Linked DNA regions of Homo sapiens: all the other regions are linked to region 2. The links are contacts of gene promoters, found by promoter capture Hi-C in human tissues and cell types (Jung and others, 2019). All regions are on one chromosome and are shown on one strand. The core of a region is centred on a gene start or on the middle of the fragment in contact, and the rest is flanking DNA. Distances in the headings are between cores, read along the strand shown.

Region 1 (3,956 bases), core at 899-3,398, 190 kb after region 2:
GGTCCTGTAAGTAAGGAATCTGGGCACAGCCTAGCTGGGCACCTCTGGCTCAAGTTGTCTCATGCAGTCAAGCTGTTGGTAAGGGTTTTGGTCTTATCTGAAAGCATGACTTGTGAGGGGGCTTCATCCCCAAGATCACTTGCTTGGTGGTCCTCAGCCCCTTGCTATGTGGCCTCTCTGCAGGACACCCTTGTGATGTGGCAGCTAGCTTCCACCAAGGCAAGCGGTTATAGAAAGGGAGAAGGGGAGAGAAAGCCCGAGACAGAAACCACTGCCTTTTTATAGCCCAATCTTGGAAGTGGCATCTGATCTCTTTTTCTGTATTCTATTTGCTACAAGTGAAGTTAATAATAAGGCCAGCCCATATTCAAGAAGACACTACACAAGGGTATGAATACCAGGAGGTGTTGATAATTGGAGGTCATCTTAGAGACTTCTTGTCTTTCTTTCCTCCTTCTCAACCTACCTCCATCCCTTTCTTCTTCCTTCTGTTCCTTCCTTCTTCCCTCCCTCTCTTCCCTCCCTCCCACTCTTCCCTTTGTTCTTCTCTCCTTCCTCCATCCTTCCTATCCTCCTTCCCTCTCTCCCTCACTCCCCCTTCCTTCCCTTTCTTTCTTTTTTCCTTCCTTCCTCCCTTCCTCCCTCTCTTGCCTCCTTCCCTCCTTCCCTTCTTGCTCCCCTCTCTCCCTCCCTCCCTTCCTCCTTTCTTTCCTCCTTCCTTCCTTCTTTCTGGAAGTGGTAGAAATTATAAGGAGATTGTTTTGGGATCTTGTGCCACAGATTGTCTTTCCAAAGCCAACTCTACCTTTTGAATCCTGCATATTTCTTTGTCTTCTCCAACACCATCAGCAAGATATAAATGAAATGGGTGTCTATGGGCTGGTTTGGGAATACCATTTGTAATACTGCATACATGGGAACTTGTACTTGACACTCTATATTCCAAATATATTAGTGAATTTTTTTTGGACACAACCTATTTGTAAATTGCCAATTCGCTGGAATAACAACAATCACAAAAGATTGTTGTTTTTGAGACACCATTTGACTCTTAATATCAGAGATATTGTCATGCGCTTCCTGATTGGTTTAATTTCACCTGGGACTGATATTAAAGGAGGTATATTGTTCACATTACAGATACAGGTTCCTCAGTGCACCTATCTGTTAGGGATGAACTGAAGCATGGAAGTTAAAATAAGGGTAATATTATTTCTTCAAAGGTACTCATCCCTTTTGGAAATGGTACTCAATTCTTTTTCTTTAAATGTCACAGAATTGCTGATGTCATCAGTAGGAAATCTAGTTTATGGACCTTCCCTCCCAATGATAGCAGTCATTCCTGTGAAATGACACCTCCTTGCTAATATTGAATTGTGGGGTGCTACACTGAGTCACTCAAAGAGGAGCTGAGAAATGAAACAAAGATTACATAGACCAGCCATCTACCGAGCTGTAAGATTTGGTATTCTATTTTCTACTGAGGATTGATTATTCTCCATTTCATGGCAATTTCTGTGTCAGTCTTTGAAAAGAAGTAAAACAATATAATAAGAGAGAGACGATAACTTGTAATTGTTGATTCCTTCACAGACACTGGGATGGATTAAATGCTGACATATTTGCCATAAATACGGATATGGATGTCTGCCAATGCGAGAGTCACCCACGTATCTGCCAAAACAAACATAGTTAGGCACTATTTAAGATATCCGTCTTCAGAAAGCACAGAACTATATCAATTTTTAAAATTGATTTTTAAAGCTTATAATCAAACCCTCTGATCTATTCTTCCTATTTCCCCAAAAGGAGCTGTCCCAGGAATTAGGACATTCACTGTGCTTTGCTGAGGTAGGGTGGACCTAGGGGAGGGAGGCAGTGCTGCCTAGGGGTTTCTGGAAAGGAATTGCATAGCTTGGAAAATGAGCCAGAAACCTATACTCCAAGGTGATTTCCAAATGATCACAGCAGGAAGTTTTGTGGCAATTTTGCATATATGACTTTTATACCTAATTTTCAGTGCTTCTGCACATGTGGTTCATATGTTTACCCCAAAGCATTTCTTGCCTCCAGCTGGAATATGCTCAGAAATGACCTGTGACATTTTTACATTCACAAACTAAAAGTACCAATATCTATCCCTCAGTGTATCCACAAATGTTGTCTCTTTCCCTTTGTGCCATTTTCTGTTCGGTTGCCATTTCACAGGAATGGGTTGAAAGATGCCCCCAAGGTGATCTTCATGAATCCCAGTAAAGCAAAGACAGCCAATGTAAAGACAGAGGCCAATTGTTGTAAAAGGTCACAGCTGCTTTCATCAGCTGACATGTGAACCGCTGGAAAGGTACCATATCAATGAAAAGAATAACACGACAGCAAAATCAGGCACACTGCCTCCTCAGTTCTATATCCTGTGCAGGTTTGCAACCCGCCTTGCTGCTGGTGAGGCAGAGAGTGAGAGAGTATTTGCATTGGCTGGAAGGGACTTTTTTTTTTCTACAGGATAAAAATAGGTGGAACAGGAAAGCACCCATGCTTTTATTGAAAGAAAGTATGCTGGTTGCCGAGATTTAGGGCTATATTTTTAAAGACGAACTTCTCTTACTGGAATTATTACTCTTACAGGGGTGGTGAGGTCAGAGTCAACTGTAGTCAACTGTAGTTGCTATGGGTGTAGTTATTTGATGGGGAGACATCCAAGAATGATGGGCTGTGATGTGGTTGAGGTTTGCAGAGGACGTTCTAGCCTCACACTATTGCTACTTGGCTTTTTCTGTCCGATGCATCCCACTTCTTATTCATACCTCAGTGGAGTCCCCTCTTGTGTAACTGAGAGGCCCCTTTGAATCCCAGAGCTGCTCACTGCCCTTCTTTGACCATGAAGGCTTAACTAAAGATCTTTGGAAGGACTGGTTGCTCAGGTTTTTTTTCTATTGCATTGGAAACATCAGTAAAGAGAAGTTTACATGAGCCTGCACATTAGAGCCAAATTACAGATGTAATTTAAAACAAACATATATACATATCCACACACATACACACATATACATATACACATATATATGGACTTAGCCCTCTAGACACTGGAATTTGAAACTGAAAATATGTATACGGGGATTTGGGGAATGACATTCTATTTAATTCTAATTTGAAAGACTTTAACTTTCTACCATTAAAAAAAACTATGTTTTTGTAACAGCATGCACTGTTCACAGTACTAGCACAGCATTTTGCAAGAAGAGTGTTTATTATTAATAATTAGCTAAGTTAGATGATTTTGCTACCAGAGTTTTAGTCTTGGCTCTGCCACCGGGCAGTAACTGTGTGTGTGACCTTGGCCGGATCACTTAACCTTCTTGGCTTTGGTTTCCTGCTCTATAACACATGAGGATTAAAATAGATCAGTAAGTCTCAAACTGTAGGCCTCAATCCACTAGTGAATCATGAAACCAATTTAGTGAGTTTGATCAGCATTAAAAATTAAAAAAAAAAAAAAAAAAAAAAAAAAAAAAGAGGCTGGGCGCGGTGGCTTATGCCTGTAATCCCAACACTTTGGGAGACCGAGGTGGGCGGATCACAAGGTTAGGAGATCAAGACTATCCTGGCCAACATAGTGAAATCCCGTCTCTACTAAAAATACAAAAATTAGCCGGGCGTGGCAGTGCACACCTGTAGTCCCAGCTACTCGGGAGGCTAAGGCAGGAGAATTGCTTGAACCCGGGAGGCTGAGGCTGCAGTGAGCCAAGATCACATCACAGCACTCCAGCCTGGGCGACAGAGTGAGACTCTTCTCAAAATAATAATAGTAATAATAATAAATAAAAATAAAGAAAAGAAAAGAAAATGTTGGAACGCATTACATGTCATATGACATATTATTGTTGCCAAAAGTTGTCATTTCCGTTAAATCTCTGTTTATATGTTTATGTGTACATAGGGTTGCAATGTGAAATGTT
Region 2 (4,080 bases), core at 437-2,936:
AAGTGGTTTTGTGGAAACTGGTGTTAAAGTGTCATTAGACTGAACTCAAACGTTCCATGGGGAGCACCAGATGTTTCAAGCAACAGATCTTGGTAAACTTGGTTTCAGAAAGAAGTTAAGCCAGAGAAGGGTTTGGACCCATAAACCAAAGGGAACTTGTTAGTCACTAAGTGACTGCCAAGGTACCTGTTTTCGTTATGCTAATAAGAGGTTACACAAATTCCAGGAAGGAGGATTGCTAGGTGCAGGGGATGGTTAGGTCACAGGGGGACCGCCTGCCGGCTGGCCTCTGAATAGACCCTGACCATGGCTCCTTAATCCAGGGAAGCAGCAAAAACGAACAGCAATTGGGCTGAAAACAGGGCGAAGGTCCTTGCGTTAGGCCGGGAGAGTCGTTCTTAAAAACATGCATCCTCCCAGAGGTCACGGCCTCCTTCACATCGTCCAGGTCGGGCACGGGTCCCAGAGAACGACACCCCAGTGTACATGAGGTACTGAGCGAAGACAGTGGGCATTGCTTCTCCCCTCCCCATCCCCGAACTACTCTTGCCAGCCATCACACACAAGGAAAGGTATTCTCTATAACCAAACGGATGATTTCGTCCACTTCTTCCTTAAACACCTAAAAACCACAGCGACAGCACTAGTAGCCCTTCATTCGGAATCAGAGCAGCAGCATCTGCGAACCTGCAAAGACCAGGGGCTAAGGGTGCCAGGACACAGCGAGAGTGGCCCCTGCTCAGATCCGACACAAGCCTCGGGGGCTCCCGGCGGCGTAGACGCCGCACTTCGCTCGCTTCCCGCTCTGCACCTACCTCGCTCGCACATCCGCCAGCGTCCGGCACCTGAGCCGTCGGTTCCGCGGGTGCCTTCTCCTCTTCCCCGGCGTCCAAGGGGCCACTCCGAGCCGCTCGGGGGTCCCCGCCGCCCCCCTGCACAGCCTGGCTGCCGCCGTCCACGCTGGCGCCGGCTCCTCCGGTGGACGAGGCGGCGGCGGCGCCGAGCAGCCCGTGGGCCTCGTCCGCGCTCCCGGCAGCCACGCTGTGCACCAGCCATGCATCCACGCTGGTGCGAGGGACGAAGGGGACCCCGAGCGCGCGCACCTCCCGGAGCAGCTGGCCCTCGGGCGGCGCGGCAGGGTCCAGCTCCCGGCCCTTGGGGTGCAAGTGGCCCGCGCGCCCCCACCCTCCCGAGGCCGAGAAGGGGCTGAGCGCGTAGGCGGAGCTGGCCGGGCCGCCCAGGAACAGCAGCTCGTCCTGCAGCAGGGTGGGCGGCGGCAGCAGCAGGTAAAGATCTAGGTCTACGCGGAGCCCCGCCAAGCTCAGCAGGAGGGTGAGGTGCAGGAGGCCGCCGCCGGCCGACCACCACCGCTTCAGGTGCTTCATCGCCGCCGCGCGCCCGGGAACGCCCCTGCCGGCGCCCGCGGGTCCCGGCGCCCCAGCCGCCGGGGTGACACGTGCGGACCCCGCGCGCCGCCCGCACCTGCCTGGAACCCAGATAAGCGAAACAATGGACCGGGGCGCGTGGCGGCCGTCGCGGGTTCCCAGCACCGGGCACAAAGGCGTTCCCTCGGCAGCCGGCACCGTGCCTGGCACCGCCGGGGATCGGGAGAAGCGAAGAAGGAGCCACCTGAGCGCCGAGCCCGTTCGCCCAGCCGCCCGCAGCCCGGCGCGGTGGCCAAGCTCCGCCCCCGGCCGCGGGCGCAGCCGACAGGAACACGCCCCCTGCCGCCCGGGGCCCGCGCCCGTGGGAGGGGCCGCACGGGGCGGGGCTCCCCGAGCTCAAAGCCTCTTTATGTCCGGGGAACGCAAGGCTTTCTGGGAGCAGAAGTTGTTCTGGGCACCAAGTGGCCCCTTGCCACCCTGTGGCCGTGAGCTGGGCCATCCTTGCTGAAAGCCAAGGGCGGGAGTTGGGGTGGAGGGCTAGGTGGTGGGTAGCTGGGTGGGAAGGGACAGGATGTGTAGACTGGGCGGAGAGTGACTGGGCAGCTACGAGGGGCCTGGCAGCTTGCAACGGGCTTCCACCCCAACGTGAGGACACTTGGCGGGCAGAGTGGGCAAGAGTAACCTCTCTGTCTCAGTTCCGCTATCTGTAAAATGGGGATCATAGAGCCTGTCAAACAGGGATGTGTTGAGGTCAGATGAAATATTTCGTGTAAAGTTCGGAGTTTCACATATAAATTCCACCGTTGCCATTGGGATCAGTCATCCCACCACTCCGCACACCCCAGTCCCAGCCTCACAGACCCCTCTCTCTTCTCTGGGCGTGCTCTGCATAGTGCTAGACCTCCTCTCGGTATCCTTTGCTCCTTATCCGTTGTTTCCTTGAGGGTTGACAGCACCAGCTCTACAGTTACCCTGAGTGAGTTCAAGTCCCCCCTCCACTTGAGGGGCGACCTTGGACAAATCTCTCCTTTTCTCTGTGCCTCAGTTTTCTCACTGTAAAATGAGACTAATAATAGCACCTCCCCAGCAGACCTTTTGTGAGCCCCAAATGAGATAATGCATGTAAACCACCGACCACAGCACTGCATGGGTAGGAAGTGCTCCCTGCTACCCATTGTTTGTGTTACTCACCCTCAAGGCTTAGCTCCAAAGCTACATCCTCTGAATTTTCACCAGTTGGCATTAATCTCTCCCCCATCTGTTGCACCGTGATTTCTCCGTTTGCCAACATTGTAACAGTTGGCCCATTCAACTCTGTGTTGTAGATGAGAATCGGTCTGATTTGCCCATTGTAAATTCTTGAGGACAAGGAACCTGTTTGGTTCACCTTTGTCCATGCACAGTACCCAGCACTGGGCCTTGCAAGGGTAGGTTTTACTAACCTTAGCTCCCTTCCTTGGAAGAAAAGGGGACAGGAGGGGATGCCCAACTGAGAATGGGCAGTTGTGTAAAAAGTTGAGCAAGACTTGTTTTAAAAGGCCCCTCCCTCCACCTGGCTTTCTCATCTCTCTCCTGGGCTAGTGTAGTAAGAAGAGAAAAGAATGGGGACCAGGGGAGCAGAAACAGGGGAGCAGAGGAAAGTTGCTTCCTCTGTGTTAAGCCTTGGAAGATGGGTTGGGGTGGCAAAGAGGATGAAGAAAGGTGATTGCCAGGTTATCAAGACCCCGTTCACAGCATTTAGTCTTTGAACAGCGGATTTAGAGTCTCAGCTTAGTAAATGCTGCCTTCAGCTTTTTACTGAGAACCTACTAACTGCCTGAGGCTGTGCTGGAGGCATGAAGGATATGAAACGGAGTTCTTTCCTTCCGTAAGCTTATGGTTTTACTAGGGAGATGAGATAAAAATTTGTGAGACACTAAGAAACAAGAGAAATAATGTACTCAATTGCCAAAATACTTAGATGTAAATTACTTCAAGGTTTATATAGGGAGCTCTAAAACTATTGAGAGTAGAGGCGGTGCCTTCTTCAAGGCGGTGCCCTCCAGAATCTTACACACAGTTGATGCTCAAAAAAAATATTAGTTGAATTGAGGAGGTTACACTTGAGATGTATTTTGAGAAATCTGAATAGACTGGGAACAGGAAGCACATACAAACTTCTAACATTTGTTGGGAAGTGGGCTAACCCCTCACCATTTTACAATGTGAATTGGTAATCATAGTGTTAAATATCTTTCAGACTATACACTTCAAAAGCATGGCTTAACTCTGGCTCTTGACTGGTGGGAAGAACAAGGGTACCTAAAAGACCTTGCAGGAAAGTGTTAACCAGGAGACAATCCTACATACCCTTGACTTTACTCACAATAAAAAGTCCCACTTTTAGGAGCATGGGGAGAATGGAATGAAATTAGAAGGAAAAACTTCTCTTTAGGTTTATTTCTAGAATCCTCCATCTAGGAATAGCCAAGTGAAAAGTCCAAACCATTGTCTTGTAAAAGCCTTGAAAAGTCATCTGCATTCATAAAATCCTGAAATCAGTGCTACTCAAAGGTTGACCTGAAACTGATGCTCATGTGTAAACTATTTGCTTCTGATCCAAATGAGATAAGTAATAGAATTGAGAATTTAAAGAAAAAAAAATTTTTTTTTGTAGAGATGGAGTCTTGCTGTGTTGCCCAGGCCTGTCTTGAAC
Region 3 (3,903 bases), core at 505-3,004, 230 kb after region 2:
GCATGATTTGCAAATATTTTTTCCCCATTTCCTGTGGTGTCTTTTCACTCTTTTGATTCTATCATTTAATACACAGAAGTTTTTTAATTTGATGGAGTTTGATTTTTCTATTATTTTCTTTTTTTTGCCTGTGTTTTTTGCATCATATTCAAGAAATCATTGATAAATCCAATGTCATCATGCTTCTTCCCTGTGTTTTATTCTAAGAGTTTTATAGTTTTAGTTCTTACATTTAGGTCTTTGATCCATTTTTAGTTAATTTTTGTTCATGGTATAAGGTAAGAGTCCAACTTCATTCTTTTGCATGTGAGTATACAGTTTTACCAACACTGTTTGTTGAAAAGACTTCCCTTTTCCCATTGAATGATCTTGGGGCTCTTGTCAAAAATCATTCAACTATATATGTGAAGGTTTATTTTTGGGCCGTTTATCTTATTCCATTGGTCTATATGTCTGTCATTATACCAATACCTCACTCATAATATAGTTGTTATTACTATAGGTGTGTATTACGTTTTGAAATCAGGAAGTGTGAGAACTCCAACTTTGTTCTTCATTTTCAAAATTGTTTTGGCTATTTGGTGTCCCTTGAAATTCCATATAAATTTTAGGAGGGATTTTTCTATTTCTAAAAAAAATGTCATTAGGATTTTGATAGGGATTGTATTGAATCTATAGATTACTTTTAATAGTACTGATATCTTAATAGTGTTAACTCTTCTGATCTGTGAACACAGGATGCCTTTCCATTCATTGGTGTCTTCTTTCAGCAATGTTTTGTAGTTTTCAGTGTACAAGTATTTTGCCTCCTTGGATAAGCTTATTCCTAAGTATTTTATTATTTTTGATACTATCATAAATGGAATTATTTTCTTAATTTCCTTTTCTAATTGTTCATTGTTAGTGTATAGAAATCTAGCTGAGTTTTGTTCATTGATTTTGTATCCTAAAACTTCACTTTTCTAACTGACTCTTTTGGTGGAATCTTTAGGGTTTTCTAAATATCAGATTATGTCATCTATAAACAGAGATAACTTCACTTCTTCCTTTCTAATTTAGATGCTTTTTATTTATATATTTTTTCTTGCCTAATTTCTCTGGCTAAGACTTCCAGTATAGAATAGAAGTGACAATAGTGGGCATCCTTGTCTTCTTTCTGATCTTAGAGAAAGAGCTTCAGTCTTTCACCATTGAGTACAATTTTAGCTATGCGATTTTCATATGTGGTTTTTATTATGTTGAGGTAGTTATTTTTTATTTGTAGTTGGTTGACTGTTTCTATCATTAAAAAGTGTTGAAATGTGTCAAATGCTTTTACTGCATCAATTGAGATAATGAGGTTTTTTTTTTTTTACTTTATTCTGTTAATGCGATATATTATATTGATTGACTTTTATACATTGAGCCATCCTTGCATTGCAGGAATAAATCCCATATAGCCATGTTAGTATAATCCTTTTATGTGCTATTGAATTCTTTTTGCTGGTATTTTGTTGAAGATTTGTTTGTACCAATGTTTATTAGGGGTAATGGTTTGCAGTTTTTTTTGTTTTTGTTTTTTGTTTTTTTTTGGAGTGTCTTTGTTTAGCTTTGGTATCAAGGTAATACTGGCCTCATAGAATGAGTTTGGATGTTTTCTCCCCTATTCAATTTTTTTGGAAGAGTTTAGAATGACCGGTGTTACTTCTTTTTTAAATATTTGGTAGAAATTCCTCAGTGAAGCCATCTGGGCCTAGGCTTTTCTTTGTTGGGAGGTTTTTCATTACTGATTCAATTGCCTTAGTAGTTATGGGTTTATTGAGATTTTCTGTTTCTTCATGATTCAGAAACAGAGATTTTCTGTTCCTTCCTGATTCAGTACAATAAGTTGTGTACTTCTGGGAATTTATTCGTTTCGTATAAGTTATCCAATTTGTTGCTGCACAATTGTTTGTAGTACTCTCTTATAATTCTTTTGATATCTGTAAAATCAGTTATAATGTTCCCTCTTTCATTTCTGATTTTGGTTATGAATATTACTTCCTTTTTTTCTTAGTCAATCTAGCTAAAGCTTTGTCAATTTTGTTGAATTTTTCAAAGCACCAACTCTTGGTTTTGTTGATTTTCTATACTGGCTTTCTATTCTTTATTTTGTTTATCTCTGCTCTAATCTTTATTATTATCTTCCTTCTGCTAACTTTGAGGTTAGTCCTTTATCTAGTTCCTTAGGGTGCAAATTTGGGTTGTTGATTTGAGATCTTTCCTCGTTTTTAATGTAAGTGCTTTAGAGCTTTCTAAATAGGGCCATCTACATGCATTTATCCTGGTAACTTTACAGGAAGAATCAGTGAGCAGTTGGCAACATTCCACCCCAGGTAAGGGACCCTCATTAGATACTTGCCTACTGCTCATATTTCAGTTTCAGAGTTCCATGCATTTCCCACGTCTGAGATTTTGGAGAGGCTTTTCCTGTTTATATAACCACATCAAGTTTTCACTAACTGATTGTATTTTGGACTCAAATAATTTTGTTTCATTGTGATTAGGTCTATATCCAAGACCTAATCATTTTGTTTGAAACACAGTACTTAAAGGAAATCAGTCTACTCTTTTGCTTCTAAAATATCTAATATAAAGTACTGCCTTAACTTCATTAAGAGTAGATCCACTGCCATAGGATTCAAACAAAGGTGAAGACAGTAGTAACTGTTCAAGGAAATAGGAGACTTAGAGTTTCACTGGTTCTCTCAATTTGTAGCCTGGGTGAGAAACGTGTTTGGCTGGTGTCTACTTATTTGATATAACAAGAAAACTCATCACAAGGGCTGGAAATACTTCTTTGTGGCTACAATACGGATGGGAGGGGTATGTAGATTAGCACATTTTCTGATGCGTTTAACAGAAAATCAGACTCAAAATGGCTTAAACTATAGAGAAATGAATCATGTCTTATCACTGGGAGTTCAGAGGCAGGCAGACTCTGGAGTAGCAAAGCTTAGTTATGTGATCAAGGACCCAGGATCCAGTCTGGATCACTTCATGGTCATAAGATGGCTGTAAGCAGCCATGGGGCAATATGCTTCCTCATTCATAGCTTAAAAAAAGAGGGGGAAAAGAAAGAATGCTCTTTTCCTCACTCTAAAACATAGAATTAAAGTCCTACACTGTCAGTTATGGCCGTATGTGGTTATCAAGGACTTGAAATGTGCCTATTCCAAATTGAGGTGTTCTGTAAGTATAAACAACACAACTAAATTTTGAAGACTTAGTATGAAAAAAGGAATGTAAAATATCTCAATAATTTTTTTATTGATTCTGTGTTTACATAACATTTTGGGTATATGGTATTGAATTACCTAAATATATTTCTAAAATTAATTTTACCTGTTTCTTTGTACTTTTAAAAATGTGGCTACTAGAAAATTTTAAATTGCATATGTGGCTTGCATTATATTTCTACTGGGGCTGGGCGTTGGACACAGTTTGGACAGTGACCAGACAGGTCCCATGGGCTGATTGGCCTCAGCCAATCATGGGGGTGAGTGGATGTTGGGGGGTCAATTACAATGTCCATCACAAAGCAAGAGGAGTGGAGGAGAGCTGTGCATCACTGTACTCGTTCGGGACTGATAGAGATAAAAAATGACTTCAATACATTTAATCTACTCTGGGATTTGGAATAACGCAAATCCTCCCAAACCCACTCCTTTTTTCCTTCTCTCAGGCCTGTTTTCTCAAGCCCATTCTTTACTCTAGGAGTGGACAAGATAGATTGAAGAGTGCCAGGAAGTGGAGGGTGGGATGAGGGTGTGGCCGTGGAGGGCTAGCGGCACAAATAGCTAAGGTTCTAGCACAAGGTGAAAAGACGTATAGAAATGCCAGGTCCGAACTGCTTGGTATTAAACTGGTTATTTCCCCCTTCAT

What was found. Contacts are between HindIII fragments. The study calls those that stand out against the background at their distance.
Region 1: a contact is called between a fragment that was not itself captured here and the fragment with the promoter of NFE2L3 in region 2, in 1 of the 25 tissues and cell types used here (H1 embryonic stem cells).
Region 3: a fragment that was not itself captured here is called in contact with the fragment with the promoter of NFE2L3 in region 2 in 1 of the 25 tissues and cell types used here (mesendoderm cells).

What each region holds. Positions count from the first base shown.
Region 1 is chr7:25,963,300-25,967,255 of GRCh38, reverse strand. The region is part of intron 6 of LOC105375199 (a long non-coding RNA gene); the gene reads left to right. Among named protein-coding and RNA genes, the nearest start is that of MIR148A, 15 kb to the right of the region's middle. RefSeq lists an enhancer at 2,482-2,621. The HindIII fragment of the contact is 3,702 bases long and covers 298-3,956 here.
Region 2 is chr7:26,149,804-26,153,883 of GRCh38, reverse strand. It overlaps NFE2L3 (NFE2 like bZIP transcription factor 3), which reads right to left and starts at 1,686. Exons shown (of 4, transcript NM_004289.7): 1 at 816-1,686. The coding sequence starts at 1,385. RefSeq lists enhancers at 598-787, 138-931, 932-1,726 and silencers at 908-977, 988-1,237, 1,348-1,417, 1,428-1,497, 1,518-1,897. The HindIII fragment of the contact is 11,508 bases long and covers 1-4,080 here.
Region 3 is chr7:25,916,452-25,920,354 of GRCh38, reverse strand. No RefSeq gene overlaps it. Among named protein-coding and RNA genes, the nearest start is that of MIR148A, 32 kb to the left of the region's middle. The HindIII fragment of the contact is 5,057 bases long and covers 1-3,903 here.